7 separate regions of the Homo sapiens genome follow, and all the other regions are linked to region 1. The links are contacts of gene promoters, found by promoter capture Hi-C in blood cells and fetal thymus (Javierre and others, 2016). All regions are on one chromosome and are shown on one strand. The core of a region is centred on a gene start or on the middle of the fragment in contact, and the rest is flanking DNA. Distances in the headings are between cores, read along the strand shown.

The links. The method cuts DNA at HindIII sites, captures the fragments that hold promoters and counts their contacts. A CHiCAGO score of 5 or more calls a contact.
Region 2: a contact is called between a fragment that was not itself captured here and the fragment with the promoter of NOP2 in region 1, in 5 of 17 cell types (activated CD4 T cells, non-activated CD4 T cells, total CD8 T cells and 2 more). The highest score is 11.3, in activated CD4 T cells.
Region 3: a fragment that was not itself captured here is called in contact with the fragment with the promoter of NOP2 in region 1 in 2 of 17 cell types (non-activated CD4 T cells and activated CD4 T cells); the score reaches 5.7 in non-activated CD4 T cells.
Region 4: a contact is called between a fragment that was not itself captured here and the fragment with the promoter of NOP2 in region 1, in 7 of 17 cell types (activated CD4 T cells, total CD4 T cells, non-activated CD4 T cells and 4 more). The highest score is 12.1, in activated CD4 T cells.
Region 5: a fragment that was not itself captured here is called in contact with the fragment with the promoter of NOP2 in region 1 in 8 of 17 cell types (non-activated CD4 T cells, activated CD4 T cells, total CD8 T cells and 5 more); the score reaches 13.8 in non-activated CD4 T cells.
Region 6: a contact is called between the fragment with the promoter of C12orf57 here and the fragment with the promoter of NOP2 in region 1, in 1 of 17 cell types (activated CD4 T cells). The highest score is 5.1, in activated CD4 T cells.
Region 7: a fragment that was not itself captured here is called in contact with the fragment with the promoter of NOP2 in region 1 in 10 of 17 cell types (non-activated CD4 T cells, activated CD4 T cells, naive B cells and 7 more); the score reaches 19.5 in non-activated CD4 T cells.

What each region holds. Positions count from the first base shown.
Region 1 is chr12:6,565,987-6,570,185 of GRCh38, forward strand. NOP2 (NOP2 nucleolar protein) reads right to left here and starts at 2,305. Exons shown (of 16, transcript NM_001258308.2): 1 at 2,221-2,305; 2 at 1,830-1,936; 3 at 791-836; 4 at 543-631; 5 at 115-350. The coding sequence starts at 1,932. It overlaps CHD4-AS1 (CHD4 antisense RNA 1), which reads left to right and starts at 2,385. Exons shown (of 3, transcript NR_199067.1): 1 at 2,385-3,544. CHD4 (chromodomain helicase DNA binding protein 4) reads right to left here. Exons shown (of 40, transcript NM_001273.5): 40 at 4,096-4,199. RefSeq lists enhancers at 2,155-2,776, 2,600-2,649. The HindIII fragment of the contact is 18,468 bases long and covers 1-4,199 here.
Region 2 is chr12:7,065,594-7,069,792 of GRCh38, forward strand. It overlaps C1S (complement C1s), which reads left to right. Exons shown (of 12, transcript NM_001734.5): 7 at 224-377; 8 at 925-1,040; 9 at 1,446-1,524; 10 at 2,050-2,178; 11 at 2,863-2,937. Among named protein-coding and RNA genes, the nearest start is that of C1S, 7.0 kb to the left of the region's middle. The HindIII fragment of the contact is 335 bases long and covers 1,331-1,665 here.
Region 3 is chr12:7,039,373-7,043,571 of GRCh38, forward strand. It overlaps the pseudogene LOC100419825. Among named protein-coding and RNA genes, the nearest start is that of C1S, 19 kb to the right of the region's middle. The HindIII fragment of the contact is 6,449 bases long and covers 1-4,199 here.
Region 4 is chr12:7,011,170-7,015,368 of GRCh38, forward strand. All of the region lies in intron 1 of LPCAT3 (lysophosphatidylcholine acyltransferase 3), which reads right to left. Among named protein-coding and RNA genes, the nearest start is that of LPCAT3, 5.2 kb to the right of the region's middle. The HindIII fragment of the contact is 2,598 bases long and covers 788-3,385 here.
Region 5 is chr12:6,971,770-6,975,968 of GRCh38, forward strand. EMG1 (EMG1 N1-specific pseudouridine methyltransferase) reads left to right here. Exons shown (of 6, transcript NM_006331.8): 2 at 2,570-2,671; 3 at 2,783-2,924; 4 at 3,321-3,379; 5 at 3,460-3,609; 6 at 3,927-4,199. The coding sequence ends at 4,040. Among named protein-coding and RNA genes, the nearest start is that of EMG1, 3.0 kb to the left of the region's middle. The HindIII fragment of the contact is 838 bases long and covers 2,531-3,368 here.
Region 6 is chr12:6,941,645-6,945,843 of GRCh38, forward strand. It overlaps C12orf57 (chromosome 12 open reading frame 57), which reads left to right and starts at 2,378. Exons shown (of 3, transcript NM_138425.4): 1 at 2,378-2,529; 2 at 2,832-3,008; 3 at 4,127-4,199. The coding sequence starts at 2,478. RNU7-1 (RNA, U7 small nuclear 1) reads left to right here and starts at 2,172; the gene lies at 2,172-2,234. ATN1 (atrophin 1) reads left to right here. Exons shown (of 10, transcript NM_001940.4): 10 at 103-677. The coding sequence ends at 136. RefSeq lists enhancers at 2,186-2,765, 2,265-2,454, 2,755-2,874, 2,766-3,345, 2,885-3,034 and 1 more and a silencer at 2,668-2,927. The HindIII fragment of the contact is 10,579 bases long and covers 2,317-4,199 here.
Region 7 is chr12:6,924,864-6,929,062 of GRCh38, forward strand. ATN1 (atrophin 1) reads left to right here and starts at 3,096. Exons shown (of 10, transcript NM_001940.4): 1 at 3,096-3,521. It overlaps LOC124902868 (a long non-coding RNA gene), which reads right to left and starts at 2,833. Exons shown (of 2, transcript XR_007063194.1): 1 at 2,664-2,833; 2 at 1-1,262. RefSeq lists enhancers at 1-280, 981-1,680 and silencers at 2,705-2,754, 2,935-3,094. The HindIII fragment of the contact is 151 bases long and covers 2,323-2,473 here.

The sequences.
Region 1 (4,199 bases), core at 1,055-3,554:
ACCCCTTTCCTCTAGTCAGGCTTATCCTTGCCACTAAGAAACAGTCTCAAGAATCTGGGAAAGAAACTAAATAGCAAGGATCCTTCTATGAATGCCCAAAAAGATGAATCTCACCGCTTCACCTTCCTCCTCATCCTCAGAGTTGGAGTCAGCTCCATAGTCATCTACCGTATCAGCATCGTCCTCGGAGCCCCAGAGGTCCCCGTGGTTCACCATACCATCTTCTTCAGAGTCTTCCTCCTCCTCTTCCTCATCACTGCCAGGTGCTGGGCGCTTCTTGCCTCGAGGAGCATTAAATAGGGACTGGGGTCCCTTCTTACCAGCTGTCTGGACAGCTCCTGCAGAGATCCCTAAGGGTTTGAAGAGTCCTGGACTAATGGCAGCCACACATTCCCTGGCCCCACACCCTGGGAGCCTGTACTTTCTACCCCTCAGAATGTCCTTTGGCTGTTCCTTTCACTCCGGAAATGTTTAGCGAGTTCTTCCCTACCCAGGACCCAAAGGGACTCCTCATGTAGCATCCAGCTCTTAGTTTCACGGACCTTTTGGTAGCTTTCCAGGCAATGGTTTGGCCTCAGGAGACTTATTTGTCTTAGGGGCTTCAACAGAGCCCAATCTCCTCTTGGCTGCCCTGAAAAGACACAAGAGATTCAAGGAGTGAAGAAATGGGAAGATACTTCCAGGCTCTGCCATTTCCACCATAGGGAAATGTGAGAGTCTAGAATTAACTCTGTGGTCAAAGATGAGCAGTACCAATTTAACCTACTTAAGTTTTGACACCCACACTTACCTCTTTCGAGCACGACTAGACAGCCTCTTGGAATTTTCGTCACTTACTGTTTAAAAAAGAAAAACGAGGCAGAACAAGTTACAGGGGACATTAAAAATAAATGGGAACGGAAATAAACATGGTAAGAGAATTAGTACACTAATTAAAAGGAGTCCATTTAAATCTCAGCCCTGTTATTATTTAATAACTGTATACAAGTTTCTTTTTTTTTTTTGAAATGGAGTTTCACTCTTGTCTTCCAGGCTGGAGTGCAATGGCGTGATCTCAACTCACTGCAACCTCCTTCTCCCAGATTCAAGCGATTCTATTGCCTCAGCCTCCCATCACCACACCCAGCTAATTGTTGTATTTTTAGTAAAGACAGGGTTTCACCATGTTGGCCAGGCTGGTCTCGAACACTGGACCTCAGGTGATCCACCTGCCTCGGCCTCCCAAAGTGTTTCCTTAATAGTGCCTCTCTCACAGGACTCTAAGATGATTAAGCGATATAACATGACCAACAAGTTTAATACAGTGCCCAGGACTTCCTACTATCTCAATAAACTGCATCCTTTATCCAATGCCCAACACAAACTCCCGGTCCAGTGTTACCTCCCACCAGTCTTCCACACAGTATACTACTACTCGGCATGAAGCAGCCAGATCCGTGCTTTTCCATTTCCACCCCTTCCAAAAGGCAAATCAGTGACTGACCCCTCCCCTTCACTACTTCCTCTTGCTACAATGTTACCCATTTTTCAAAACCCAGCTTAACAAAAACTTTTACAGTTCTGCATGGGCTCCCCCTTCCTCTGAACTCACAATTGTTTTAAATCACACTTTTCCCTTGCATGAATAATAGTTGTGTCCGTGTCTTCACATCTCTACGACCTAAACAGTTCCCTACAATCTAAACGGCTGTTTCATTCATACCTCCTAGTAACTCATACAGAGAAGATTCCACTTAAATATAAAATGAACAGAAACTAAAAAAGAGAAGAGGTTATAATACAGAATACTGCAAAAGCTGAGGGATCAGGAGGCCACAACTAATCCTTACCTGCAGGCAAGAATCTGACGAGTTCTGTCTCGGCACCCTTCTGCTTCCGGGCCTTTCGGCCTGGCCCCCGCTTCTCCTTCGTAGGGTCCAACTTGCGCCCCATGGTACTGTGGCAGGCAGAAATGGGAGAAGGTGGCGTCGCGCGTGTCGGAGGGAACGGCAGAACGCACGCTTGGCGTATTATAGTGGGAAAGGGCACAGCCTCAACTCAGCACCCGCAACTCACTCAGCACTCCCGACTCAGCACCCGCGACTCAAGCACCCCCGCTATCCCCCTGGAGGCCCGACCGAACGCCCTCCCACCTGAAACCCAGGTAGCGCACCCTTCTCCCCACGTCCCAGACCAGGTCAGTGCTGCCACTCTTCGTCCCCCAATTTCCTCTAGACCCACCAGAATGCGGGTTAATGTCCGAGAGTGCCCTTCGGGCGGCCCTCCACGTGCAATCCGGACCTAGCTTTCGGCCGGCACTCGCCACAGAATCGTTCCACGCAGGCGCACGGGTAGCGCTAGCCTCGCGGCCCCGCCTCTTCCTGTTGCGCCTAGTCGGCCGCCGCACCCGGAACTTACGCTCGCCCTGGGAACGCCAGCGGAGCCGGCGGCGGCGAGTAGGGGGCAATTCGAAGGAGACGCGCAGCTTACACCCGCGGCGGGTGGAGGGAGCAATGTGACGAAACCATTGAGCTTGACCGACCTTCCCTCATGGAGTTGGCTTTTAGCCTCACGGCCGGTTTCTGTTGGGTGAAAGCCGCACCTTCTCCTCGAACCAGGGCCCGACATTGGAGCCCTCTCCCTCGCATCCACTGCCCTAGTCCAGCGTCAAGATCACGGAATTCCAGGCTGGGCGCAGTGGCTCACGCCTGTAATCCCAGCACTTTGGGAGGCTGAGGTGGGTGGATCACTTGAGGTCAGGAGTTCGAGACCAGCCTGGCCAATATGGTGAAACCCTGCTTCTACTAAAAATACAAAATTAGCCGGGCGTGGTGGCGGGCGCCTATAATCCCAGCTACTCGAGAGGCTGAGGCAGAATTGCTTGAGCCCGGGAGGCGGAGGTTGCAGTAAGCCGAGATCGTGCCACTTAAGCCTCACCAAGAGCGAAACTCCACCTCAAAAAAAAAAAACAAAAAAACCAGCCGGGCTCGGTGGCTCACGCCTGTAATCCCAGCACTTTGGGAGGTCGAGGCGGGCGGATCACGAGGTCAAGAAATCCGAGACCATCTTGGCCAACCTTGTCTCTATTAAAAATACAAAAATTAGTTGGGCATGGTGGCTGGCGCACGCGTGTAGTCCCAGCTACTCGGGAGGCTGAGGCAGGAGAATCGCTTGAACCCGGGAGGGGGAGGTTGCAGTGAGCTGAGATCGCGCCACTGTACTCCAGCCTGGCAACAAAGCGAGACTCCATCTCAAAACAAACAAACAAAAAAAACCGTGGAATTCCATGCCACTTACCTCCTCCTCTTTGCCCCTTTTTTAAAAATCTTTTTATAGAGACGGGTTGTAGGGGGTGGCGTCTCACTATATTGCCAGGGCTGGTCTAGAACTCCTGGGCTTAAGCGATCCTCCTGCCCCCACCTTTGTGCTGAGATTACAGGCTGTGAGCCACCGTGCCCCGCCCTCCCAGCACCTTCCTTGATGCTGACCCCTGCTCAGCCCCTCAATTAAGGTGCTGCACTGCACCTCATTCGCAGGGGGCCTCTTCGCCGGAACTCGCTTTCAGGTGGGTCTACAATTAGTTGGGAAACAACGGGTTGCAAGGCTGACCTGGTCTGGGACATGAGAAGGGGTGAACTACAAGGGTTTCAAGGTTGGAGGACGTTAGGTCGGGCCTCCGGGGGTGTGGGATTGAGGCTGTGTTCTTCCACAAATTGCATCCCAATTTTGCACAACTTAGCAAGAAAACCCCCCTCAGCCTTCCTAGAAACTAACATTAAGGTAGTGGTTAGGTGTTAAAACCGTTCCATGTACTTCACTGGTTTAACTTGACAACCGTATGAGGTATACATGAGATATCTGCATCCCACCAAAGTTAAACAACTTGCTCAAGGTCACAGAGCCATTAAGCGGCGGTGCCCGCAGTTTTGCAGCCTCTCATTTTCCACAGGTGGAAGTCAACGTTGGCAAGGCACATACTGCACCCACACACAGAACCCAGTTACTCAGTGGGGTATCAGGACACCACGTAGCCCTTAATTTTCAACTATACAGGTGCCAGGCTCCTGCCGCACACACTCATCCACCTGCACCTACACCCACACTGAACCAGAGCACTAAAATACAAGGAAACTTTTATTTTCAATTTTCATCAAGAAATTTGCTGTGGTTTTTTATGCTTTTGGTTTTTTCCTTTTTTTTTTTTTCCACTTTATTTCATT
Region 2 (4,199 bases), core at 248-2,747, 500 kb after region 1:
TCCTAGCCTCAAGCAATGCTCCCACCTCGGCCTCCCAAAGTGCTGGGATTATAGGTGTGAGCCACTGCACTCAGCCTGAAGATAAAATTATCTTTTCTCCTGACCCTTATTTTCTTCTTATTTTATGTGACATTTAATGCCTCTTTTATTTGTATCTCCCACTTCCCAATTTTACCTCTTCCCTTTAGTTCTTTCCCTCTTCTGATTTCATCATTTTGTTCAGTTTGTTGCAGGAGATCGGCAATTTGGTCCTTACTGTGGTCATGGATTCCCTGGGCCTCTAAATATTGAAACCAAGAGTAATGCTCTTGATATCATCTTCCAAACTGATCTAACAGGGCAAAAAAAGGGCTGGAAACTTCGCTATCATGGAGATCGTGAGTAACTTAGAAGTGCCTCTTTGGTTGGTGATACCAAAGTCCCCAAACAATGTGGGATCAAAGCAGGTAGATGATCCAGGCACACTGGAAGCACCTGTGATCTCAGCTACCGAGGGAGGCTGAGGCAGGAGGATCCCTTGAGCCCAGGAAGTAGGAGTTTGAGTCCACTCTGGGCAACAGAGCAAAACCTTGTCTCTAAAACAAAACAAAAACAAAGCAACAATAATTTAAAAAACAGATAGATTGTTGTTCTGATAGAATCCTGAGATACTTCACTTCTTCAGGAAAATCTAAACCAGTCAACGGTTGCTAGAAATGCCTCAACCTCTAGTAATCCTTTAACTAGACCTGAGACTGCAGACAGCTTGCGGGTGGTTAGTTGGTAATGCCATATGATTTTAGACATCTGCTGTATTGGAATGTTAAGCATCAGGATTGAGGACAACTGGACGATTTTAGAAAGTGTGAGAATGATGTAAATAGAATGAGAGTCTTCAACTATTTAGTAATTTTTTCCTCCTGTCCCAACTTCTGTTCTTTCAAGCAATGCCCTGCCCTAAGGAAGACACTCCCAATTCTGTTTGGGAGCCTGCGAAGGCAAAATATGTCTTTAGAGATGTGGTGCAGATAACCTGTCTGGATGGGTTTGAAGTTGTGGAGGTAAAGTACCACCTTGGCTTCTCCCCAGTCCCTGGCCCCAGATCAGGATGAGCGGACTGAAATTGTCCAGTTGTTTACCCAATGTATGTGTGTGATCAAGGTATAACACCTTTCCCATAAACACAACAGCTTAAGATCTGTAGTTCTCCCTTGTGAGTCATGGAGCTGCCTGGCCAGCTTGGCATTCTCTCTGCCTTCAGTCTTCTTGAGGAAGGGGAGTTGACACGTTGGGGCAAAGCTTTCTGTCAGCCTCATCTCCTGGGTGCTTTAGGTCTGCTAAGATGTTCCCAAGCTTCTTGTGGTGAGGACTCCTCATTGATCCAAGGCCAGAGATCAATTCCAGTTTTGATTTTGGTTTCCCATATCTCTCTTCAGAAATAAGTGGTGATGTTTATTATTCTCCAGGGACGTGTTGGTGCAACATCTTTCTATTCGACTTGTCAAAGCAATGGAAAGTGGAGTAATTCCAAACTGAAATGTCAACGTATGTGTCTCTTCAAAGTGGAAGTCTTTCTTTTTCTCTCAGAGAGAATGGAAAGATCAGCACATCAAAATTCAAATGCATGGTTTCCTCTTAGGCATGTGAGGGAGTGGGTTGGGTTTTTGAAGGGAAGCCAGTCATGGAAGCTTTTCTAGTCCCAGCCCCGCATCTGGTCCCAGGCCAACTAGATCGGCATGTTTCTTTCCAAGAAAGGGGCTATGGGATAGGTCGAGTTAGTAGCCCCACGTGGGTGCATTTGTGGCTTCCACTGGGCCTTCACCAACCACTGAGAACCAGGCTCTTCACTACGGCTTTCATGGGGCCATCTGAATTGGCATCTCAGCGGGTGAGAGAGCTGAGAGATGCCAGTTGGGGAGGATGGCCACAGAGAGGCTGGTGTGGGGAGGTTCATCCCAGGTGTGCCTGTGGATATGGGGTGGGGAAGCAGTGAGGATGAACCTGGCCCCATGACTCTTCCTTGGAGGAAGTGGCTGTCCTGACCATCGCTCTCCTTCCTTCGTCTGGTAGCTGTGGACTGTGGCATTCCTGAATCCATTGAGAATGGTAAAGTTGAAGACCCAGAGAGCACTTTGTTTGGTTCTGTCATCCGCTACACTTGTGAGGAGCCATATTACTACATGGAAAATGGAGGAGGTGGTAGGTTTCTTCTACTGGAGAAGAGAGAGAGAGAGTGAGAAGGTGTTGGAGGGTGGATAGCATAATCTGTGCCAGAGACAGAGTTTGGAGACAAATGAAGGCGATAGGACAGACATTGTTCATCCCCTTGGCTTCGTCCAAAGATACAGTTTTCATCTGGAGCAGGGCAAGTTCAGGGGAGCATCAGCCTCAGGGAATCATAGAGGTCACCAACTGAGTTCACAGCTGCAGCAGGAATTCCCCTACAACATCCATTTCATGGGATTACCCACCTTTTGACCAGTTATTTCATGTAAAACCCACAGGAGCAATGCCTTCAGCTTTAAGCCACCAAACTACACTGACTGGCTTTCTTGATGTAGAGGCTTTGGTCATGCTAGGTGCAGGGCTGAATGAGACCCTAATACGTTCTCTGCATTGCTCTGTATTTATTTCGCCACTTTCCCGATGCCTTCTTTCCTTCTGCTTTGGAGATGTTCCCTTTGTCTCCCTGGCAGGCTAGAGGCCTGAGGGATTGTTTGGAGGAAGATATTTTTTTTCTGGCTGATTTAATCTGATTTACTACTTGAATCCTAGACGAGCTGAGGTTCTGAAGGAACGGGGCAGGGTGTTGGGGTCGGAGGGGGGAATGGAAGAAGGAAGATGTGGTGGTGAGTGTGGCCTGTGTTCTCTGTGCTATTCCAGGGGAGTATCACTGTGCTGGTAACGGGAGCTGGGTGAATGAGGTGCTGGGCCCGGAGCTGCCGAAATGTGTTCCAGGTAAGGAGGGCTGAGGCTTGGGGAGAGATGATAGCCATGGGTGACTGGGAGTCACCTTCTGAAAGCAACTGTAATCCTCTTGGGAAAGGACTGAACAGTGACCTGCCAGAGTCCAGCTCAGTGAGGTGGCAGTATCACTGTGCCGTGGGCTGCCAGGGCCGTGGGGAACCTCCTCAGCCGCACTGAAGCCAGGCCAACTGGAAGGAAATAGAAACGTCAGCCAGCGACAGTTGGTGTCTGGTAATGTAGCTGCAGTGAGAAGATACAGAACTGCTAAAAACAGGGCCTGAAAGCTGAGAGTGTGTGAGTAATCAACACTCAGAAACAAGTCTAGCTAAATAGCCTAGTTATTATATTAAAAGTTTATAGGGCAGCAAGATATAGAGGAATTCAAAGAATGAGGAAGATAAGAGTTGGGTAGCAGAAGGCTGAGGCAAATCCAATAGGATAATAACCATCCTGGGTGGTACTGAAAGCTGAAGACTGAGCTGATTTGTTGCATTTATTATCTCATTCGTGTCCGTATAACAGCCCTGTGAGCTAGGTGTCATTGGTCTTATCTGACCAATGTCAAATGTGAATGGGTGGGGTGCAAGTTCACAGAGTTAGCAAGTGGCAAAGGCAGGCTTTGAGCCCAGGTCTGTCTAAGTTCACAGCCCATTGTGCTCAACTTGGAGTCCCTCCAGGCTGTCTAGTAAGGGATTTAAGTAAGCAGCTTCACTTGAATTCAGTTATTAGTATAACTGAATGGTAATGGCACCAGTCACTGGGAGTGAGAGGTCAGGGCCAAAGAAGGGACCCCTCTCTACTTCCTAGGCTGACCTGTGGTTTACTAGGAGGGACTCAGGTGCAACTAGGACTCCAGTAAAGAAGGTGATTAAAGTTTGATCTGGGCATCTGAAGAAGGCAGAAATCTTTCCTCCTCCACCATCTGTGTGAGAAAAGGGTTTCCAGCACTGGCTCTTGATTGGGCACCGGCCTCATGTGCCGAGTTGGGAGGTGCAAAGGGGACCCCTGCCTCCAGGGGGGCTGTGGGTCGCACTGTGGATAGTGTGAGGCATTAGTGCATCTGGACTCAGTGATTCACACACTGCCTCCGTTTAACTGAGCTCTCCCATGAGCCAGCTTATGACATCGGCAAAGCGGGATGTTTAGGTAAGGCCAGAGTGGGTCAGGTATTGAGATTGTTGACCAAATAGGGTTGACTATTTTGTACTAGAGAATCCTGCAACCTAGCAGGTAACATTATGTGAGTGGTTGGA
Region 3 (4,199 bases), core at 1,007-3,506, 470 kb after region 1:
TTTTCTGCCTTCTGCAGGAGCAGATGTTCCCACAAGGAACACGGGAGGTGCCAAGGTTGGGTTTCCAGCATAAGGCTGAGCCTTCTGCCCTCGGTTTGACCCTGGGTGGCACTGTTAGCTGGAGGCCACGAGAGCTGCCTTGGACGTGTGGGGCCAGCGAGCAGCGGCCCCTCACTCGTGGAGCATTGTTGCAGCCGGGCAAGTCTGCCATTGCTCATCCTCTTAGTCTTGCTCCCAGCTGCGACTTGTTCTTACATGTTCTAGATGCAAGGCTTTTGTGTGTGTGTGGTTTGTAAATATTTTGTCCCAGTCCATCGCTTATCTTTTACATCCTCTTAAGGGGGGTTTTGCAGAGAAAAGGTTTTTTTCTTTTCAAATTTGGTGAAGTCTGATTTATCAATTTTCCTTTTTAAGGATCTGATTTTGGTGTCATGGTTAAGAATTCCTCAATGACTCCCAGGTCCCAAAGATTTTTCCTACCTTTTCTTTGCTCTTTCTTTCTTTCCTTTCTTTTTCTTTCTTTTTTTTTTTAGATGGAGTCTTGCTCTTGTTGCCCAGGCTGGAGTGCAATGGCGTGATCTTGACTCCCTGCAATCTCTGCCTCCCTGGTTCAAGCAATTCTGCCTCAGGCTCCGGAGTAGCTGAGATTACAGGTGTGCACCACCACACCCGGCCCAGGCTGCAGTGCAGTGGCACGATCTCGGCTCACTGCAAGCCCTGCCTCCCAGGTTCACGCCATTCTCCTGCCTCAGCCTCCTGAGTAGCTGGGACTACAGGCGCCCGCCACCACACCCGGCTAATTTTTTTGTATTTTTAGTAGAGACAGGGTTTCACCGTGTTAGCCAGGATGGTCTTGATCTCCTGACCTCGTGATCTGCCTGCCTCGGCCTCCCAAAGTGCTGGGATTACAGGCGTTGAGCCACCGCACCTGGCTTCTCTGTTTGGTTTTCTATAACATTATTCTTTTTTTTTTATAGAGACAGTGTCTCATTATGTTGCTCAGGTTGGTCTTGAATTCCTGGTCTCAAGCCATCCTCCTGCCTCAGCCTCCCAAAGTGCTGGGATTACAGGCGTGACCCACTGCACCTGGCCAGCATTCTTTTTTTTTTTTTTAAACTGTTGAACACTCTGTAATTATTAGGTAAAATTAATAGTACTTCACAATTATATATATCACTTTACAGTTTACAAAGTTACTAAGTAGACATTTGTTTTGATGCCCCAAAATAAAATTTAACTTCTTTGTCCTCCCTTCTCCCCTCCATCAAGGAAAGACTAAGGAACATTTAATCAGAAAAGGCAATATAAGTGCATCAATCTGTACAGAACTGCAAAGAATAAAGGGGAGGAGGGTAGGACCCTGAAGAGGGCCACAGGGACTTCAGGAAGGAGAAAACCAGAGTGTTAAACGTGAGGAAAGCCCAGGGGTGACAGGGAGTTAACCACCATAAGGGGCAGGTTGTATTCACTACATAAAAGGAGGGGCACACGGCATATGTTTCACATTCTAAAATAATATGACAATATCATAACTGAAGAGCTGAAGTTGAATTTTGTGGTTTCTCAGAACACAAGTAGAAGATGACCACCAACCATGGTTTCTGAATAAACTGAGTTCAAAGTGCATCTGGTTGCAGCAGGGGGCTTCCTTGGACTCTGATACTAGAAATTTAACAAAGGTAATTCGAGGAGCTGCGATTTTACATAGTGGTGGCATCCTAGGGGGCATCTATCGCATCAGTTAAGTTTAATATCTGGCAATCATGGAAAAGGAGTTTCTGAGCAGGTAATACTTGGGCCATCTCTTGGAGATTCCTGCTGTAAGGACTAAGTTTCTCCAGAGAAAGCACTTGCCTGGGTATGACTCAGGGCCGGGCAAAAATTCACACTATGAATCTGGTGGAAGGGGGAGAAGTATGCCTGGTGGGACCACATTCCCATAATTCTCTAACCTCACATCTCTGTAGAGTTCCCTCTGAACAAGGTCCAGGTATCTCCATTCCTCTTGAGTAAGGTGCACAGCCACATCCTCAGATGTCACAAACTGCTGATACCTGGCTGTCAGGAGCGCAGCTGCCTGATCTCCTGGGCTGTCCTCATGGGGAAAGGCAGGCACCTGGGGAACAGGTGGAACCCTAGTGAGTCCCTGTTCCATGTCGGTGTCCTGCACAAAATGAGGCTTTGGAGTCAGACTCTCAGACTGGGTCTCCAAAAACTGAAATCGGACCCTTGGTGAGCCTGCTGCTTCCTGGGCTGGTATTTTCTCCATCCCTGTTCTGGAGGACAATGACCGTCGCAGCTTGCATCAGGACATGGCCACTGGGTCCTGATGGCGAGGCCCGCCCTCGGTCTGTGGGGTGAACTGGGGCTGAAGAGAAATAGGCCTTTGCACCCAAGCATCTGCACACTCTTGGGGAAGGAAACCACTGTCCCATATTCTTTACATTATCCTTGTCATTTAGGATCTCCAGGATTGGCTTCAGTGTTAATGATTCTTTGTCATTATTTTCCTGTAAGAGTGCCCTTTTATCTAAAGATTTCAGTTCATTTATTTGACAGAAATCTTCAACCATATATATAAAAATATATAAATATATATATATACTTTTTTTTGGTGACAGAGTCTCATTCTGTCACCCAGGCTGGAGTGCAGTGGCGTGATCTCAGCTCACTGCAACCTCCGCCTCCCAAGTTCAAGCGATTCTCCTGTCTCAGCCTCTGGAGTAGCTGGGATTACAGGTGTGCACCACCACACCTGGCTAATTTTTGTATTTTTAGTAGAGATGGGGTTTCACCATGTTGGCCAGGCTGATCTTGAACTCCTGACCTCAGGTAATCTGCCTGCTTTGGCCTCCCAAAGAGCTGGGATTACAGGCGTGAGCCACCATGCCCATACTCAACCATATCTTTGAATACTTTCCCATTCCAGTTGTTATATTCTTTTCTCAAAACACCAATCATGTATCTCCTTGATCCATTTTCATCAGCGTCTCTGCGATTTTATCCCTTTGCACTTTTCCATTTTGTTTTGGGTGATTTTTTTCAAGACTGGCCTCCATGTACTATCTATGTTTTCATAGTATGTATTTGACTTCTTGCTGTTTCTATAATGAACTTTTCATTTTTGTGGTGGCTTTCCTGTTATTTCCAATTTCTCAGTTAAGTTCTACCACATCACTTTTTTCTCTCTAAAAATATGCATCTGTTATTCTCCCTTGTATCTTTTTTTTGAAAAAGTCCATGCTTTAACTTTTGTGAGTATAGAAAAAATATGTCTGACATCTTTCTTCTGCTTGCTGGAATAACTTTCTAAAAATAGACTTTATTTTTATAGGGCAGTTTTAGATTTACAGAAAAATTGAGCGTATAGTACAGAGAATTCCCATACAGCTCCTACACGGTTTCCCCATTATTAATGTCTACATTAGGGTGGAACATTTGTTACAATCATGGAAGTGATGTTGATACATTACTATTAACTAATGTCCATAATTTATTCAGATTCCCTTAGTTTTTACCTAATGTCGTTTTCCTGTTCCAGGGCCTCCTCCAGAATACCACATTACGTTTAGTTTTCATGTCTCCTAGGCTCCTCCTGGCTGTTACACTTTCTCAGACCTTCCTTGATTATGATGACCTCGAAGTTTTGAGGAGTACTGGGAAAGAGTATTATAGGATGCCCCCTACTGGAATTTGTCAGATGTTTTTCTCATGATTATACAGGGATTATGGCTTTTGGGGAGGAAGATCTCAGAGGTAAGTGCCATTCTCGTCTCATTGTATTACCATTATTTATTTATTTTTTAATTTTTATTTTTTGAAATGGAGTCTCACCCTGTCGCCCAGGCTGGAGTGCAATGGTGCGATCTTGGCTCACTGCAACCCCTGTCTCCTGGGTTCAAACGATTCTCCTGCCTCAGGCTCCTGAGCAGCTGGGATTACAGGTGTCTGCCACTACACCCAGCTAATTTTTTTTGTATTGTTTTTAGTAGAGACAGGGTTTCACCAGGTTGGCCAGGCTGGTCTCCAACTCCTGACCTCGTGATCCACCCTCCTAGGCCTCCCAAAGTGTTGGGATTACAGGTGTGAGCCACCGCAGCTGGCCATATTAGCATGATTTATGACTGTTGATGCTGACTTTGATCACCTGCCCAAGGTAGTGTTTATCAGATTTCCCCCCTGTAAATTTGCTCCCTGTC
Region 4 (4,199 bases), core at 837-3,336, 440 kb after region 1:
GACTACAGACATATGCCACCCAGCCCAGTTAATTTTGTTCACTTTTTGTAGAGATGAGGTATCACTATGTTGCCCAGGCTGGTCTTGAACTCCCGGACTCAAGTGATCCTCTTGCTTTGGCCTCCCAAAGTGCTGGGGTTACAGGCGTAAGCCACCGTGCCTGACCTGGAAAATTGTATTTAAAAGAAATTCTTGGCCAGGGGCAATGGCTTATGCCTGTAATCTCAGCACTTTGGGAGGCTGAGGCTGGTGGATTGCTTGAGCTCAGGAGTTTGAGACCACCCTGGGCAACACGGTAAAACCCTGTTTCTACAAAAAATACAGAAAAAATTAGCCAGGCATGGTGGCTCACGCCTGTAGTTCCAGCTACTCAGGAGGCTGAGGCTAGAGAATTGCTTGATCTGGGAAGCAGACGTTGCAGTGAGCTGAGATTGCACCACTGCACTCCAGCCTGAATGACAGAGTAACACCATGTCTCAAAAAAAAAAAAAAAAAAAAAGAAAGAAAGAAAAAGAAATTCCCAAACGGGAAGGTTTAGATTATGATGAAATTTGTGGCTATGAACTAGAATAAAGTCTAAACATGTAGAAGTAATATACCTAGACTTTTAAAATTGGAAGGGTCCTTGAAAGTCATTTAGGACAGTCTCCCTATTTTATAGCAGTAGAATTTTTGGACCCTGCTTTGTATTATGGTCAGAAGTCTCTTTGTTTCATTAATGCTGCTTAATTTTCATCTAGCTTACCTTTGGTCTCTTTATATTGTGATTCCAGTGCTACCTGAAGAAAGCTTTCTGCACTGAATAATGGATTTTTTTCTGAAGGGCCAGACCTGACTTTGGTCCAAAGGGAACTAAACTGCAGGACCTCCTTTGATTTTAAAGGTCGCTAACTTTAGTGATGCTAATTCTGAACCTCTGAGGGATGAATTGTTACCCCCAGCTGCAATTTTTGATCAGTCTAACAGCCAAGCCACCATCATGGCCAAGACTAGGGAACACTCACAGTAAGCAGGGTGGCCATCTGCTCCATTTGGCCAGCTCTAGCTTTGGACACTGAGAGGTGGCTCATATACTGATTGCATCTTGGTTTAACCACTGAGAGTGAAAAGAGAAAAGGACACCAAGGGCATTTATCTTTTCCAGCCCCACATGCTCCTCCCAATCTCAGCGGTAAAGAGCAGGAACTCTGGAGTCAGGCAGAACTCAGTGTGACTTACTCAATCTTTGTAGGGCTGACTTTCCTATCTGTACCAGGAGATCTTAACAGCACTATAATTACCTCACGGGTAACTGGCAGGTTTAGGTGGGGAACTGCCTGTTGACCATTTAGGACAATGTCTGGTACACAGAAAATCCTTAATAAATGCCAGCTATTACTATTATCAAGGGGTAGCAACATTAACATACCCAATCAACGTGAATAAGATCCTCTTCTCTGTATAACCTTTTCCATGGCATTTCATTCCCTCCCTGAGTCAGTTATGATACCAATACTGTCTCCTAAAACTCTGTCTTTAGCCCAGCTTCTTTCCTGAGCTCAAGACCAGGCTTCACAACTCCCAAGATACCTGGAAGTGCCCTTGGAACCTAAAGTGAACCCCAAACCAGATCATTTCCTGGCACTTAAGAGTATCTGATCCTCCACTTGATCTCTGGCATTGGTCAAAGATACCCTTATCTTTCCAGCTACTCAGGCAGGAGGATGGAGTCTTTTTAAAATTACGACTTTATCCTCCAGCTAATAAGTTGCCAAGTCATTCATTCATACATTCACCTATTCAAGTATTTATCGAGCCTTTTCTACAAGCCAAGTAATGTGTTAAACTCTGGGTACACTGTGGTAAACAAAACTTCCATGGTTTCTGTCCTCATCTACAAATATATAATTACAAAGTGTAATATATACTTGGAAGGAAATTCCGGTCAGTATGAGAAAGTGTAACAGGGGACATAATTGAACATGAGAGTCAGGAAAGAACTCAGAGGAAGATGAAAAGGAGTTTGTCAGGTGACTGAAGGGCACTCCAGGCAGCAGGTAAGCGTGTGCAAAGGCTCTGAGGTAGGGAAGCCTTCATGCCTTTCCTGAGGAACTGAACAAAGGCCATGTGGCTAAAAGGTTGTCAGCTTGCTTGGGACGAGGCTGGGGCAGCAGGCAGGGGCTTACCAGCCAGGTATGGAAGCCCCTGAAGGGTTCTGAGCAGGAGAGGCACAGGATCGGATCACTCTGGCTGCTTTTGGAGAGTGGACTGAGGGGGCAAGAACAGAATTAGAGACTAGTCAGGAGGCTACTTGGGTGGTGCTGGTGACAGATGGTTAGTGGCTGTGGTGATGGAGAATAGTAGATGGATCTGAGACACAATCCAGAGGTTGTATTGATAGGATTGGGTGACTGGGATGTGGGGAGTGAGTGAAGAAAGGCAACAAAGCTGATTCTTGGGTTTCAGGCATGAGCAGCTGTGTAGATGACTGTGTCTACAGAATCTACCTTTCAAAAGGTTCCGGTATTCCTAGACCATCTCACAGGAGATGCCCACTTTCTCCTCTCAGCACAGCCACCCTGCCTCCAAGTCATTATAACTTCCTCTCTAGATCACTTCTTTCTCCTTAGTTTCCCTACTACTTGTCTATGCTGACTTCAAATCACCCCAGGCTGTATTATCTTTTTAAATACAGCTCCAGCCATATTATTCCCCACTCAAAAATCTCCAATGTTCCCTATCACCTACGTGAGTACTAACTCTTTACCTTGGCTTTAAAGGCTCTTTAACCTACAGTTCCAGCCTGATTTTCCATCACTTCTTTAAAGTCCTGTTTTAGTCACACTAGACTACTGACTGTTCCTTGGCTGTGTTGCCACATTCACACCTCAGTGCCTCTGCTCATGCTATTCCTTAAGTCTTACCATCTCAGCATGCTGAAACCTTACTCATCTTTAAATGAAATGTCCCATCTTTAAATCTCACAAAGCTCTGTACCTCTCTTATGGTGCTTAAAATTTATTGGGGTTATTAGTATACTTATCTCAGGCCCATTTCCTATACCCTAACAGACCATAATACCTTTGAGTGCAGGGCTCCTGACTCATACTACACCCACTGCTCCTGCCCTTGCAGGGTTAAGAATACTGCTTTACCTGTAGTAGGTGCATGTTACTGAATTTATATGAGCAATTCATGGTATTAGTTACATTAAGGAGTGATGAGATCCAAGCTGTTGAAGGGGAGATGTTTTCTGGTAGTATTTGCCAGCACCAGGGCTCATGGCAAAATTCCTCTTCAGCATCCTTCCATCAAACTCCTTGCAAGCATACACCACACAAACATAAACACACTCCTTTTACAGTCTTCTGACTGCTCAAAATACTCCAGTGCAGCAGTCCACATAAGCTTACTTTTTCTTTGAAGTATTGAATATTAAAAATTGCAGCCTCGGCTGGGCGCGGTGGCTCATGCCTGTAATTTCACGCCTGTAATTCCAGCACTTTGGGAGGCCGAGGCAGGTGGATCACGACGTCAGTAGATTGAGACCATCCTAGCCAACATGGTGAAACCCCGTCTCTACTAAAAACACAAAAATTAGCCGGGTATGATGGCGTGCACCATAGTCCTAGCTACTCAGGAGGCTGAGGAGGAGAACTGCTTGAACCTGGGAGGCGGAGGTTGCAATGAGCCGACATCGAGCCACTGCACTCCAGTGTGGGTGACAGAGCGAGACTCCGTCTCAAAAAAAAAAAAAAAAAAAAAATTGCAGCCTCTAACTCAAGATTTTTCAAACTGTTGTAACTCATTAACAAGTCATGAAATCAACTTAGTGAGTTATTATTAAGGGCAAGTATTCTTTCCTGAAACTTGTTTCAAATACGTGTATACACATACAAGTCTGTGTGTTCTGGGTCACAATGTAAAACATATTTCTTACGATGGATCTTAGTCAAAAAGGTTTAAAAGCCAGTGCTTTAATGCTCTGCATTCCACCCCAAGATCAGCACACAGAACTGAAGTAAAAAAAGTAAGATGTTAAGAAAATAGTAATTAGACTATCTGATTAAAACGTACACTTGAAAATGTGAATGATATACCTAACTCTTCCCTTGGGGTATTTGCATTTAGGGAGGTGTTTTTAACCTGAATTAATCTAATCAGTGGAAAGTGAACCAGAAATCATTTTGGACTACAGGCTTTCTTGGTACCTCCAGCAA
Region 5 (4,199 bases), core at 1,700-4,199, 410 kb after region 1:
TTTTTGTAAGGGCTTCGTGTTTCAATTCATTAGTATCCATAGTCACCTCTCTCTAATATCCACCTATGATACACTGTCCAGACCTGGTTATTATTTAAAACTTTTACATCTGCATTTTTATCTATCATTCATCTCTTTCCCCACATGTAATAGAACCAGCAGTTCTCTATCTTAAAGCCTTGGGCAGTGTTCTTCCTCCTCCTTTCTCTTACCCGTTAGAACTAATTGAATAGGCCCAGAAGAAATCGCATTGGTTTAGAAGTCAGGCCAGGATTTTAATCTTCGTTCTAAATACACTTTTTTTTTTTTTTTTTTTTGAGATGGAGTCTCAGTCTCTACCAGGCTGGAGTGCAGTGGCACGATCTTGGCTCACTGCAGCCTCCGCCTCCCGGGTTCAATCGATTCTCCTGCCTCAGCCTCCAGAGTAGCTGGGATTACAGGCCTGCGCCTGTAATCTATTAAAAGAATAGAAAACATGATTATATCCTACTAATGGGTTGAAACTGTATTATTCATTCAAGAAGGTTTTTTTCTTCTATAACTAAGGGTGTCTCATGGACTTAGTTCTTGGTCATTTGTTCTTTGTGCTCTCTGTGACATTACTTCAACTATTCAATTTCAAAATCTACATCCCTTTTTTCGCAGACTTTTTGGAGCCATATATCTCAAGAATGTTGCTAGACATATACATTCCAGTGATACATAAAAACTTAACCTTCCAAAACTTGTATTTGTATATAACAGTTTGTTTTTAGACTTTTTACTGACCACCCTAATGCTCCTTGGGACTCCAAATTGCAACTTGGAATTATTTCTTTTAGCTGCTACAGATGTAGTCCACTTCTTTAACATCAAACTTCTGATGTCTTTTCCAGTGTACAGAGAGTTGTTAGGATAGTGTCTGTCAGTCATTCCCATCCTGCCCTGCTTACTCCAGAATTATTTTTGGCTTTGTGCTTGATACATTAGGATTCTGTGGTTTACAAAGCAGCTTCATATATAATCACTGCCCTTTAGTGTCTCAGCTCCCAATTTTCCTCAAAATTTCCTTTCTTCGTTTCCACTTTTTCTTTTTTGTTTCTTTTTTGAGATAGGGTCTTGCTCTGTTGCCTGGGCAACAGAGTGCAGTGGTGTGATGGTTCACTGCAGCCTCTACTTCCCTGGCTCAAGCAGTCCTCCCACCTCATCCTCCTGAGTAACTGGGACTGCCAGCAAATGGCACTGCGCCTGGCTAATTTTTTTTTTTTTTTTTGTGAGACAGGGTCCCACCGTGTTGCCCAGGCCGGTCTCAAATTCCTGGGCTCAAGTGATCCTTCCACCTCGGCCTCCTAAAGTGTTGGGATCACAGGCATAAGCCACCACACCTGGCTACTTTGTCTTGATTCCATCTGTACCTTTGCTCATGCCAGTCTTTCTTTTTTCTTTTTTTTGAGACAGGGTCTTGCTGGAGTGCAGTGGTACAGTCTTGGCTCACTGCAATCTCTGTCTCCTGGGCTCAAGCCATCCTCCCACCTTAGCCTCCCAAGTAGCTAGGACTACAGGCATGTGCCACCATGCCCAGCTAATTTTTGTATTTTTAGTAGAGATGGGGTTTCGCCATGTTGCCCAGGCTGGTCTTGAACTCCTGACCTTAAGTGATTTGCCTGCCTTGGCCTCCCAGAGTGCTGGGATTACAGCCGTGAGCCACTGCATCTGCCCCCATGCCCGTCTTAAAACTGGGAATAACCCCTCTTCCTTTTACTTCTGAGAGTTTTCTTTGATTAAACTGCCTCCTGCATCATTAGTTTTCACATTTCTTTTTTTTGAGATGGAGTCTCGCTCTGTTGCCCGGGCTGGAGTGCAGTGGCGCTGCAAGCTCCGCCTCCTGGGTTCATGCCATTCTCCTGCCTCTGCCTCCCAAGTAGCTGGGACTACAGGCGCCTGCCACCATGCCCGGCTAATTTTTTATATTTTTAGTAGAGATGGGGTTTCACCGTGTTAGCCACGATGGTCTCAATCTCCTGACCTTGTGATCTGCCCGCCTCGGCCTCCCAAAGTGCTGGGATTACAGGCGTGAGCCACCACGCCCGGCCTTCACATTTCTTGTTCAGATTTGCAGCTCTTCACTTAGTGCATGTTTGGTGTACGCAAACTGAGGGTGGTGACTCGATATTTTGCACAGTACCTACTTACTGCTCCTGTAATAAACACAGCATTCAGCCTTGCTAACTACTAACTCCTGCCTAGTTCCAGGATGTCTCATTGGCCTTGCCTAACAGCCACAGGTTTTTTAATTAAATCCAGTGTATTAGTAGATAATGTGAAGTCACAGGTTGTGCCCTTCCTCCTGTTTCCCTCTCAGACCATTCACTGGGGAGTGCAAATAAGGCTGCACAGTAATCCCCCGAAGGGCTTGCTGGGCTCCACCCCCAGTGTTCCTGGTTTAGTAGGTCTAGGGTGGGCCTGAGAATTTGCCTAACAAGTTTCCAGGTGCAGCTGCTGCTGGTAGTTTGGGGACCACACTTGAAGAACCACGGGGCTAGGTAACAGAAGCTTATGCTGTTCTCTCGTCATGTTCCCTGTTCTTCAGGTAGGGAAGACATATGAGCTACTCAACTGTGACAAGCACAAGTCTATATTGTTGAAGAATGGACGGGACCCTGGGGAAGCGCGGCCAGATATCACCCACCAGGTAACTCCAGGGACAGTGCTCACAACCCTTTGAGCCTCTGTATGGAAGGGTTGGCAGCTGAGTGCTGCCTCTCTTCAGCCTTAACCATGTCTCGGTTTCTGCTTTGCTCAGAGTTTGCTGATGCTGATGGATAGTCCCCTGAACCGAGCTGGCTTGCTACAGGTTTATATCCATACACAGAAGAATGTTCTGATTGAAGTGAATCCCCAGACCCGAATTCCCAGAACCTTTGACCGCTTTTGTGGCCTCATGGGTAAGAAGCCTTAGAACAAAGTTAGAATGAACTTGTCAGTAGGGAAGAAGGGAGGAAGAGGAAAAGGGAGAACTAAATGTGGATTTTTAAGCGAGAAAATGGGAGAACAACATGATTAATACCAGGACAAGGACTGTTATTATTTTTCTATGTTTGTGGAAACTCCACTCCTGTTCTTGCAGTAGCTTCCTGGCTGAGTGAAAGAGGGAGTCTGAACCCATCACTGTACAGCTAGCCATATGCTTGGCAACTGTTTGTTCCTAACATTTCAGGAGTCCAGTCTAGATATAAAGCACACAGGGAACTCATCTTATCCATGGGGTTTTCCTTGTTCGATGACTGGACAGAAGGACTGTGGTCTCCATCTAGCTCTGAACTCTTTTTTCCCCCTTCTAGTTCAACTTTTACACAAGCTCAGTGTTCGAGCAGCTGATGGCCCCCAGAAGCTTTTGAAGGTGAGGTATTGAAACCTGTTAGTTGAAGGCTGGTTCTGGGAATGTTTCTGGGGCTGACTTTTCTCTCTTTTTTACTTTAGGTAATTAAGAATCCAGTATCAGATCACTTTCCAGTTGGATGTATGAAAGTTGGCACTTCTTTTTCCATCCCGGTTGTCAGTGATGTGCGTGAGCTGGTGCCCAGCAGTGATCCTATTGTTTTTGTGGTAGGGGCCTTTGCCCATGGCAAGGTAAGGTCTGGGCTCAACCCTGAAATTCTTGGTAGAGCTGAACTTAGTATAGAATTCCCAGAGCAGTAGGCATTTTAACAATGCTTACAATGAGCTAGAAGACACATGACAGTTCCACACCCTGCCCCAGGGCACATCCTTTGAGGGCTGCTGCCATAATTGGAAGTCACAGTTAGGACCTTCTTCATCCTTTGTAGGGATTTGATATTCAACAGCACAGCTGAAATACTAGCTCAGCCATAGTTTTCCTGCCCTAAAGAAGGGCTGAAACAGCTACTGAGTGACAGAGTTGGCTGACAAAACTGTTCTTTTCTTAGGTCAGTGTGGAGTATACAGAGAAGATGGTGTCCATCAGTAACTACCCCCTTTCTGCTGCCCTCACCTGTGCAAAACTTACCACAGCCTTTGAGGAAGTATGGGGGGTCATTTGACAGTAGTAGAACCTGTTCTGAAACCAGAAACTGTTGATGTCACATCCTTTGACCCTGGTCTGAGCTGACTGCTGGAAGATGATCTTTCTGCACTGAGACTGTGGAGTTTGGGGAAGCCAAGGCTGTACATTTGCTATTTGTTTATCCTATGAATACTGT
Region 6 (4,199 bases), core at 1,128-3,627, 380 kb after region 1:
GGGAGGGAACCCCTCCTCTCCCAACCCCTTCGGTAAGAGGGGGCAAGGTCAGAGTTGGTCTCAAGTCTCTTACCTCTCTGCTATGCACTGCCCCTTCCCTAGTCACCTGAAGAAGGAAAGCGACAAGCCACTGTAGAACCTGCGATCAAGAGAGCACCATGGCTCCTACATTGGACCTTGGAGCACCCCCACCCTCCCCCCACCGTGCCCTTGGCCTGCCACCCAGAGCCAAGAGGGTGCTGCTCAGTTGCAGGGCCTCCGCAGCTGGACAGAGAGTGGGGGAGGGAGGGACAGACAGAAGGCCAAGGCCCGATGTGGTGTGCAGAGGTGGGGAGGTGGCGAGGATGGGGACAGAAAGCGCACAGAATCTTGGACCAGGTCTCTCTTCCTTGTCCCCCCTGCTTTTCTCCTCCCCCATGCCCAACCCCTGTGGCCGCCGCCCCTCCCCTGCCCCGTTGGTGTGATTATTTCATCTGTTAGATGTGGCTGTTTTGCGTAGCATCGTGTGCCACCCCTGCCCCTCCCCGATCCCTGTGTGCGCGCCCCCTCTGCAATGTATGCCCCTTGCCCCTTCCCCACACTAATAATTTATATATATAAATATCTATATGACGCTCTTAAAAAAACATCCCAACCAAAACCAACCAAACAAAAACATCCTCACAACTCCCCAGGAACATGGCTGTGACTATTCTTTGCGGGATATGGGGGTGAGGCTGGGTCTCAGTGCAGCGGTGCTTAGAGAGAACTGCAGCCAGGGCCTGGCAGGGAAGCGGGAAGAGACCAGACCTTCTTAAGGAACGGGGTGTGGGGGCTGGGAAGAATTGGAGAGGGGATCCCTGAAGAGCCCAGAGCCTTGACTCAGCTGGAGGCGGTACCATGGGTGCTGGTGCCCCCTCCTGCCCCAAGGCTGGGCAGGACCGCTGCGCGCCAGTGGAGGCCTCGGTCTGGGCTCTGTGGCTTATGCCTGTGAGACGCGGGTGGATTGCTTGAGCCCAGGAGTTGGAAACCAGCTTGGGCAACATAGAGAAACCCCATCTTAAGACAAAATCAGCTGGGGGTTGTGGTGCACTTGTGGTCCCAGCTACTCAGGAGGCTGAGGTGGGAGGATCACTTGGGGGTCGAGGCTACAGTGAGTCATGATCGCACCACTGCACTCTAGCCTGGGTGACAGAGCAAGGCCCTATCTCAAAACAAACAAACAAAAGACACCCCAACCAACCAAACACTAGAGGCCTGGGACAGGCCCACCTCTGACGTGGTCAGTTCTAGGAATCTATTCAGACGGGTCTCACTGCTAGGAGCCACCAGAGTCCTCCGGAACAAGGGCTTCAGAGTCCTGAAACCTTTCCGTGGAATACTTTAAGAAACGGTTATGAGGCCAGGCGCGACGGCTCACGCTGGTAATCCCAGGACTTTGGGAGGCCGAGGCGGGCGGATCACGAGGTCAGGAGTTCCAGACCAGCTTGGCCAACATGGCAAAACCCTGTCTCTACTAAAAACAAAACATTAGCTGGGCATGGTGGCGCGCGCCTGTCGTCCCAGCGACTTGGGAGGTTGAGGCAGGAGAATCGCTTGAACCCGGGAGGTGGAGGTTATGGTGAGCCAAGATCCCCCCCAGCTGCACTCCAGCTTGGCGACAGAGCAAGACTCCGTCTCAAAAACAAAAAACAAAGCCGGTTATGAAGCGGGGGTGGGGTGGGCTAGTTTTAATAGGTCCAGGCGATTAGTACCTGGCATCCTTAACCACCTACAGTTTGAGAAGGGAGTGGGTGATAAAAGCCTGGAAGGGAAGGGAAATCGGGCCGGGCATTAGGCTCCATCGCTCATCAATAGACAAGGCCTTTAGGAAACTGCGACAACGGCTTTTGCTCTGGGCCTTTACTGCCGAATCCAGGTCTCCGGGCTTAACAACAACGAAGGGGCTGTGACTGGCTGCTTTCTCAACCAATCAGCACCGAACTCATTTGCATGGGCTGAGAACAAATGTTCGCGAACTCTAGAAATGAATGACTTAAGTAAGTTCCTTAGAATATTATTTTTCCTACTGAAAGTTACCACATGCGTCGTTGTTTATACAGTAATAGGAACAAGAAAAAAGTCACCTAAGCTCACCCTCATCAATTGTGGAGTTCCTTTATATCCCATCTTCTCTCCAAACACATACGCAGCAGTGTTACAGCTCTTTTAGAATTTGTCTAGTAGGCTTTCTGGCTTTTTACCGGAAAGCCCCTCTTATGATGTTTGTTGCCAATGATAGATTGTTTTCACTGTGCAAAAATTATGGGTAGTTTTGGTGGTCTTGATGCAGTTGTAAGCTTGGGGTATGAAGGTTTGGGCCACGCCTGGGCGCTTCCGGCTGCGCCGGATGCTGTTTCCTTTCCGCTCCCAGGGGCGTTGGGAACGGTTGTAGGACGTGGCTCTTTATTCGTGAGTTTTCCATTTACCTCCGCTGAACCTAGAGCTTCAGACGCCCTATGGCGTCCGCCTCGACCCAACCGGCGGCCTTGAGCGCTGAGCAAGCAAAGGGTGAGAATCGTCCTAGTCAAGGCATAGGCTGCTGGCCTGGGGTAGTCAAGGCATGGGCTGCTGGTCTGGGGAGGATGCGGGCGGAGGATGTGGGGCGACAAACCTGGCTACGTCCGCCGGGAAAATGGGGTAGGGGACGCCGGGTACCGTCCTTCTAAGTGGGGCGCTTGCCCCCAAGACTTGGGATCTTATTGGGTTACCTACAGCCTCAATCCACTAATTCCTTGCGCTCTCCGCTGGGCCCGCTGTCTGTTCTCCGACGCCTACCCGGGACGCCTCCCTGGGATGCTTCTGGCGCGCAGTGGTCCTCGCGGAGGTGATCCAGGCGTTCTCCGCCCCGGAGAATGCAGTGCGCATGGACGAGGCTCGGGATAACGCCTGCAACGACATGGGTAAGATGCTGCAATTCGTGCTGCCCGTGGCCACGCAGATCCAGCAGGAGGTTATCAAAGCCTATGGCTTCAGCTGCGACGGGGAAGGTGGGTCAGACGCGGGAAGGCGGGTCAGACGCGGGAAGGCGGGAGTTGGGTCGGGAGAGGGCGCCGGATCTGTGGGCCCATGAGCGGTTGTCCCCTTTCTCGCCACACGGCGGCAGCCACAATCTGACTAACATTCTTGGCACTCAGAGCCCAGGGTCTACCCTGAGCTTGTGCGTCCGAGTTGCGTTTTGTACAGTAGAGGTTCTGTATCCCTTACCCGAAATGGTTGGGACCGGAAGTGTTTCGGGTTTTTTCAGATTTCGGAATATTTACATATACATGGATATCTTGGGGGATGGGACCTAAATCTGAACACGAAATTGTTTTGTTTCATATACACGCACCTTATGCACATAGCCTGAGGGTAATTTTATATAATAGTCTGAATAATTTTGTGCATGAGACAAAGTTTTGACTGCGTTTTGACTACAGTCTCCCCCACCCCCCACTATGAAGTCAGGTGTGGAATTTTCCATTTTCGGCCTCACACTGGCACTCATAATTTCAGATTTTGGATTTTCTAATTAAGGATGGTCAACCTGTACTGTTAATCACATTATTATTCCATTTTGTGATGAGGAAGCAAACTCTAATGGTGCAGACTCTCGAGTAGCAGAGCTGGACTTAAATGCTGTTGTGCCACCTTTTAGTGACATGTCTGCATGACAGCAGTGGCTGCAGTCTCTCCAGGGTGTTTCAGCTAATTTTTGTTTGGGGGGGGTTGGTGGTTAAATTTTTGGTGAGATCCTGGTGTTCCCCAAAGGTGTTGACTGATTCAGCTCTGCTGCCTCATAGCCTTCCTGAGTTCCAGCTACAGACCTGGGGTCTCGTGTTCATTCTTGGGGTTCCAGTGACTAAACTGCTAAAATGGTTCACCTGAGAGCAAGAAGCACACTGCCTTGGGACATTTTCATTCACTGCATCCCATCTAGTTGTGCCCAGTGTAGACCAAATGTCATCATCCAAACCACACGGGACAGAGGCCTGCATGCGTCCTGTTTGGCAAACAGCTGCCCAGCCAGTGGGGGAGCAGTTCATGCTTAGACTACCACCCCCTCCAGGTGTCTTAGGCACGCTGGTCCTTAGGAGAAGGGTTGACCTTCCACTCCCTCTTGCAGGTGTCCTTAAGTTTGCTCGCTTGGTCAAGTCCTACGAAGCCCAGGATCCTGAGATCGCCAGCCTGTCAGGCAA
Region 7 (4,199 bases), core at 1,148-3,647, 360 kb after region 1:
TAGTTTGAGCCTAGTTCCTAGCCTCTGTCCTTTCTTTCATCCCTCCTCACCAGGTCGCCTTCTCTGACAGTCTGGCCCCCCAACCCCCAAAGTATCGGGGTTGGATTGGGTTACAGCTAGCTCTGCCTGGGCCTCCCAGGCCCTTCTCTCCACTTTCCCTTTGTGCCGTTGCCTGGAGACCAATGGGTTGTGGGGGGCTGAGCCAGAGAGGGAGCTGGGGTGAGGGATGGCTGGGGCTGTGTGTGTGCGTGTGCGTGTGTGTGTGTGTGTGTGTGTGTGAGAGAGAGAGAGAGAGATGTCCCCTGCAGCTGGACTATAAGCCTGGCCCTCAGGTAGGGGAGGAATGGGAGAGGGTAGACAATGGTTTCTTTTGTGACTCTCACCATCCCCTATCCCCACATATGCCTAAATTTTTCTTTTAGTATCCATTGTAGCCCATTCCTTAGTGATTAAAAAACAAGGGAGAAGAGCTCAGCCTGGAAGGGATTTGGAAAGGGCTTGAGCCAAGGCCCAGTGGGAGACTGAACTGAGTGGTACAGAAAGAGAGGAAATGCCATGGGGAGAGAGGGTGAGAGGGAAAGGGGGAGCCCTGGAACAAAGTCAGGGGTGGGGAGGAGCAGCAGCTACCCTAGAGCAAGAGGAAGGGAGTCGGGGTGCACAGGGAGACAGGGAGCTGGCCTGGTCTCAGGGAGGCCCTGGGAGGAAGGTGTGCTTGGAGTGGTAAAGTGAGTGCCAACCAATTCAAGGGACTTCAGAGTGATGACTCATTCCCAGGCCAAGGAAGTGTTCCTGTTCCTGCGCCCAGTTCCCCAGTGCTCTGGAATCTTGTTTAGAGCTTTTGAGTATTCCCAGAACTTTGTTGAATCTGGCCCAAGGAATTGTGAGACAAAAATCTACTGAGCTGCTCCAGAGCTAACCTCCTTCCTTCCCTGAAGGCAGGTGGGATCTTGCCAATTCAGGGCCCACCCTTAGCCTCCAGCAAGACTGGCCCCACAAGTACCCGACCCCCACCCCAAATCTGGAGCTCTACTGAGGGCTCCTAATCCACACTCCAGCTCCAGCTCTTCCGGCTTGCCAGCCTGCCTCCCTCCCATTCTCTGGCCTTCCCAATTTCTGCTGCCAAAAATCACCCTGTGTCCTTTGTCCTGGGAGATGTTGCCGCTTGGTGGAGGGCCAGGAGGGAGCCCAGGAGAAGGAACTGGTGGTGGGCTGGCGGAGGTGCTGGCTTCACGGCCGGGAGCAGACTGACTGCCAGAGGCTACCTGGAGAGCAGGGGAGGGAGAGGAAGGGTTGGGAGGAGCCTGCAGTCTGTGGTGGGGACTGTCTCCACCTTAGAACAAGTGGGATTGAGCAACAAGGATACCCAGGGATTTGGGTCCACATTAAGCCCAGTCTTCACCCGACTGCTTCCCTGTGACCCAGGGGATCTTTAGTGATGACTTTCAACAGATTTGAGAAGGAAAATGGAGATGCCACTAGATGGAAGGCCTGAGGATGGTGTCTCACTCCTCCAAGCTGTATCCCTTACCTATCTACCCATGAGCTTGCCAGCAACCTCCCCCCGCTCCCACATCTGTCATTTCCTTTAACTGCCCTCGTTTCCCATCTCCATTTTTTCTTTTTTTTTTTGAGACGGCGTCTCGCTCTGTCTCCCAGGCTGGAGTGCAGTGGCGCGATCTCTGCTTGCTGAAACCTTTGCCTCCCAGGTTCAAGGATTCTCCTGCCTCAGCCTCTGAGTAGCTGGGATTACAGGCATGCGCCACCACACCCGGCTAATTTTTGTATTTTTAGTAGAGACGGGGTTTCGCCATGTTGGCCAGGCTGGTCTTGAACTCCTGACAAGTGACCCACCCGACTCAGCCTCCGAAAGTGCTGAGATTACAGGCGTGAGCCCCCGCACCGGCCCCATCTCCATTTTCTTTTCCCATCCATGATCTTTCCTCTTCCATACTGCCGCCAGCCATAGGCCTTGTTCAGCTTACATTTCCTTCCAATCTTCTTATCCCCCTCTTCCCCATTCTGCCCGCCCAAGTAAACCCTCCTCGGCTCTACTGGGAGCCCCCACCCCCAGGATCCAGCCAGCCCGGTGTCTCCCACCCTTCTTTCCCATCCAGAGCCCTCCTTTCTCACCCAGAACCTATTTTCCCTAGAATTGGCACCTGGGCCCACCTCGTTCATCCCTTCTTAAGGTTCCTCACGCGTTCCCTCCTCTCTCTCCTCACTGACGTTTCCTCTGGACTTCTCTCTCTCCAGCATTCCTTCATCCCCCCACCCCCAATTCTTATATTTATGACTCTTTTGTCAACACTAATCACCCCCAAAAGCTTTACTTTTTCCAGAAGCCCCATCTTTCTATATATGTCATCTTTTCAATTTTTCTCTCTCCTTATGACCCCAAACTTCCATCCCATTCTCTCTGATAATAGCCCCCAAACCCGTCTGGCTCCATCTCTGCCACAGATCCCTCACCCCAAGCTTCTCTCACTTCTCACCAGGCACCCACAAAGCCCCCAGGCAGCTCCATCTTTCCAATCCAATCCCATTATCCCAATCTCTACCCCAGGATCCCCCAAACTCCTCCCACTTCACCTCTGCCACAGACCCGCTCGCCCCCAAACTTCAGCCTCCCCTCATCTGCCCTCACCACCCACAGCCCCTCCTACCTAGCCCTCTCCCGCGCCGGGCCCGCGGGCTCCCCACATTCCGCCACGGCTAGCCCTCCCCGCGCCCCGGCCCCCTCGGCCTCGGCCTCGGCCAACTCGCGCTGCGCCTCCCCCTCTCCGGCTCCCCCTCTCTCCCCCCTCGCGGCTTGCCTCGCGCTCCCTCCCTCGCGTCTCCCTCCTGGCCCCTCTCTCCTCCGTTCCTCCGCGCTCCCTCCTTCTCCCTCTTCCTCCCTTCTCCCATCCCCCTCTCCCAGGCTCCCTCCCTTCGCCGTCCGCTTTCCTGTGCGAGTCGCCGGACGCACCGCCCAGCCCGTCCGCAGCCCCGCGCCGGGTCGGGGCCTCGGGCCGGGCCATTTCGGAGGGACCGCGGCTTCGGGGAGGGGCTAGGAGGGGGGAGAGGGAGCCGACTGCCGGGGAAGGGGCGGGGGCCGCGGGCGAGGCGGCCGAGGGGCCCGGGATCGCGCGGGTGCGGGCTGCGCTAGGCGGGCGCGGGCGGCGGCGGGTCGGAACCGCGCCGAGGGCCGGGCGGGCCGCGGGGCCGGGCGGCGCGGCGGGGGCGGGCGGCGCGGCCCGGGGCATTCCGGGCGGCCAGGGGGAGGCGGCGAGCCCGGGGAGGTGGGGAGCAGAGCGGGGATCGGGGTTTGCTCCGGGGGCCGGCGGGCGATTGGGGCCAGGCGGGGAAAAGGGGGGATGGGGGCCGCCCTCCGGGGGGGTCGGGGCCGCCGCCGCCGTCGTCGCGGCGGCGACTGAGGCCGAGAAGAGGAGAGGGGGGCGGGGGAGCTGCCGCCGCCGCCCCCCAGAGGCGCCGGAGCCCGGAATCCCGCTCGGAGCCAGCCAGCCGTCCCGAGCTACCAGCAGGTAAGGTCTGCGGCCGCCTGGGCCCCGGGCCCGCGGGGTTCTGTCCCGCCCGGGCTCCGGCCTGCGGCTCCCCACCCCCACCCCTCCCAGTTCCCCCTCCTGCCGCCGCCGCCTCCATTTGTTATTTTCCCAATCCCGTCCCCCCACTGCGGGCTCTGCCTGGCCTGAGGGCCGGGGGCTCAGGGGGTGGGGCCCGCCGAGGAGAGTCGGGGGCCAGGGTTTCGGGAGGATCGGGAAGGTGGGGAAGGAGGGAGGGTCTCCGGAGGAGGCCTGTGGGGCCAGAGGGTATCCGGGACCCGCAGACTCAAAAGAGGAGGAACATCGAGGCCGGGGTTGGCGGAGGAAAACGGGGGATGCTGTGAGTGGGGTTCCGGGCGAAGGCAGAATGGATAGGAGAGATGGCAGCGAGGTGGGGCATGAAGCCTCCAGGAAAAAGCTCCAAAGGACCAGAACACGGGTTCCGGAGCCTGGGGTTGGGGGCTTTAGGAATAGACGGGAAGTGGGAAACGGGAAAGGGGTGTGGTAGGTGGAAAGAGGGATTGTGGCTGATGAACCTGGGGGAGACGGAGGCTTGGGCAAAGAGAGGTCCATTTTTGAGAAGAGCCGGAGGTTTTCCAGCGTGGAAGAGGGAAGGCCATGTCTTTGTGACGGTTTTCATTCCCCTACTGCAGGTCACCT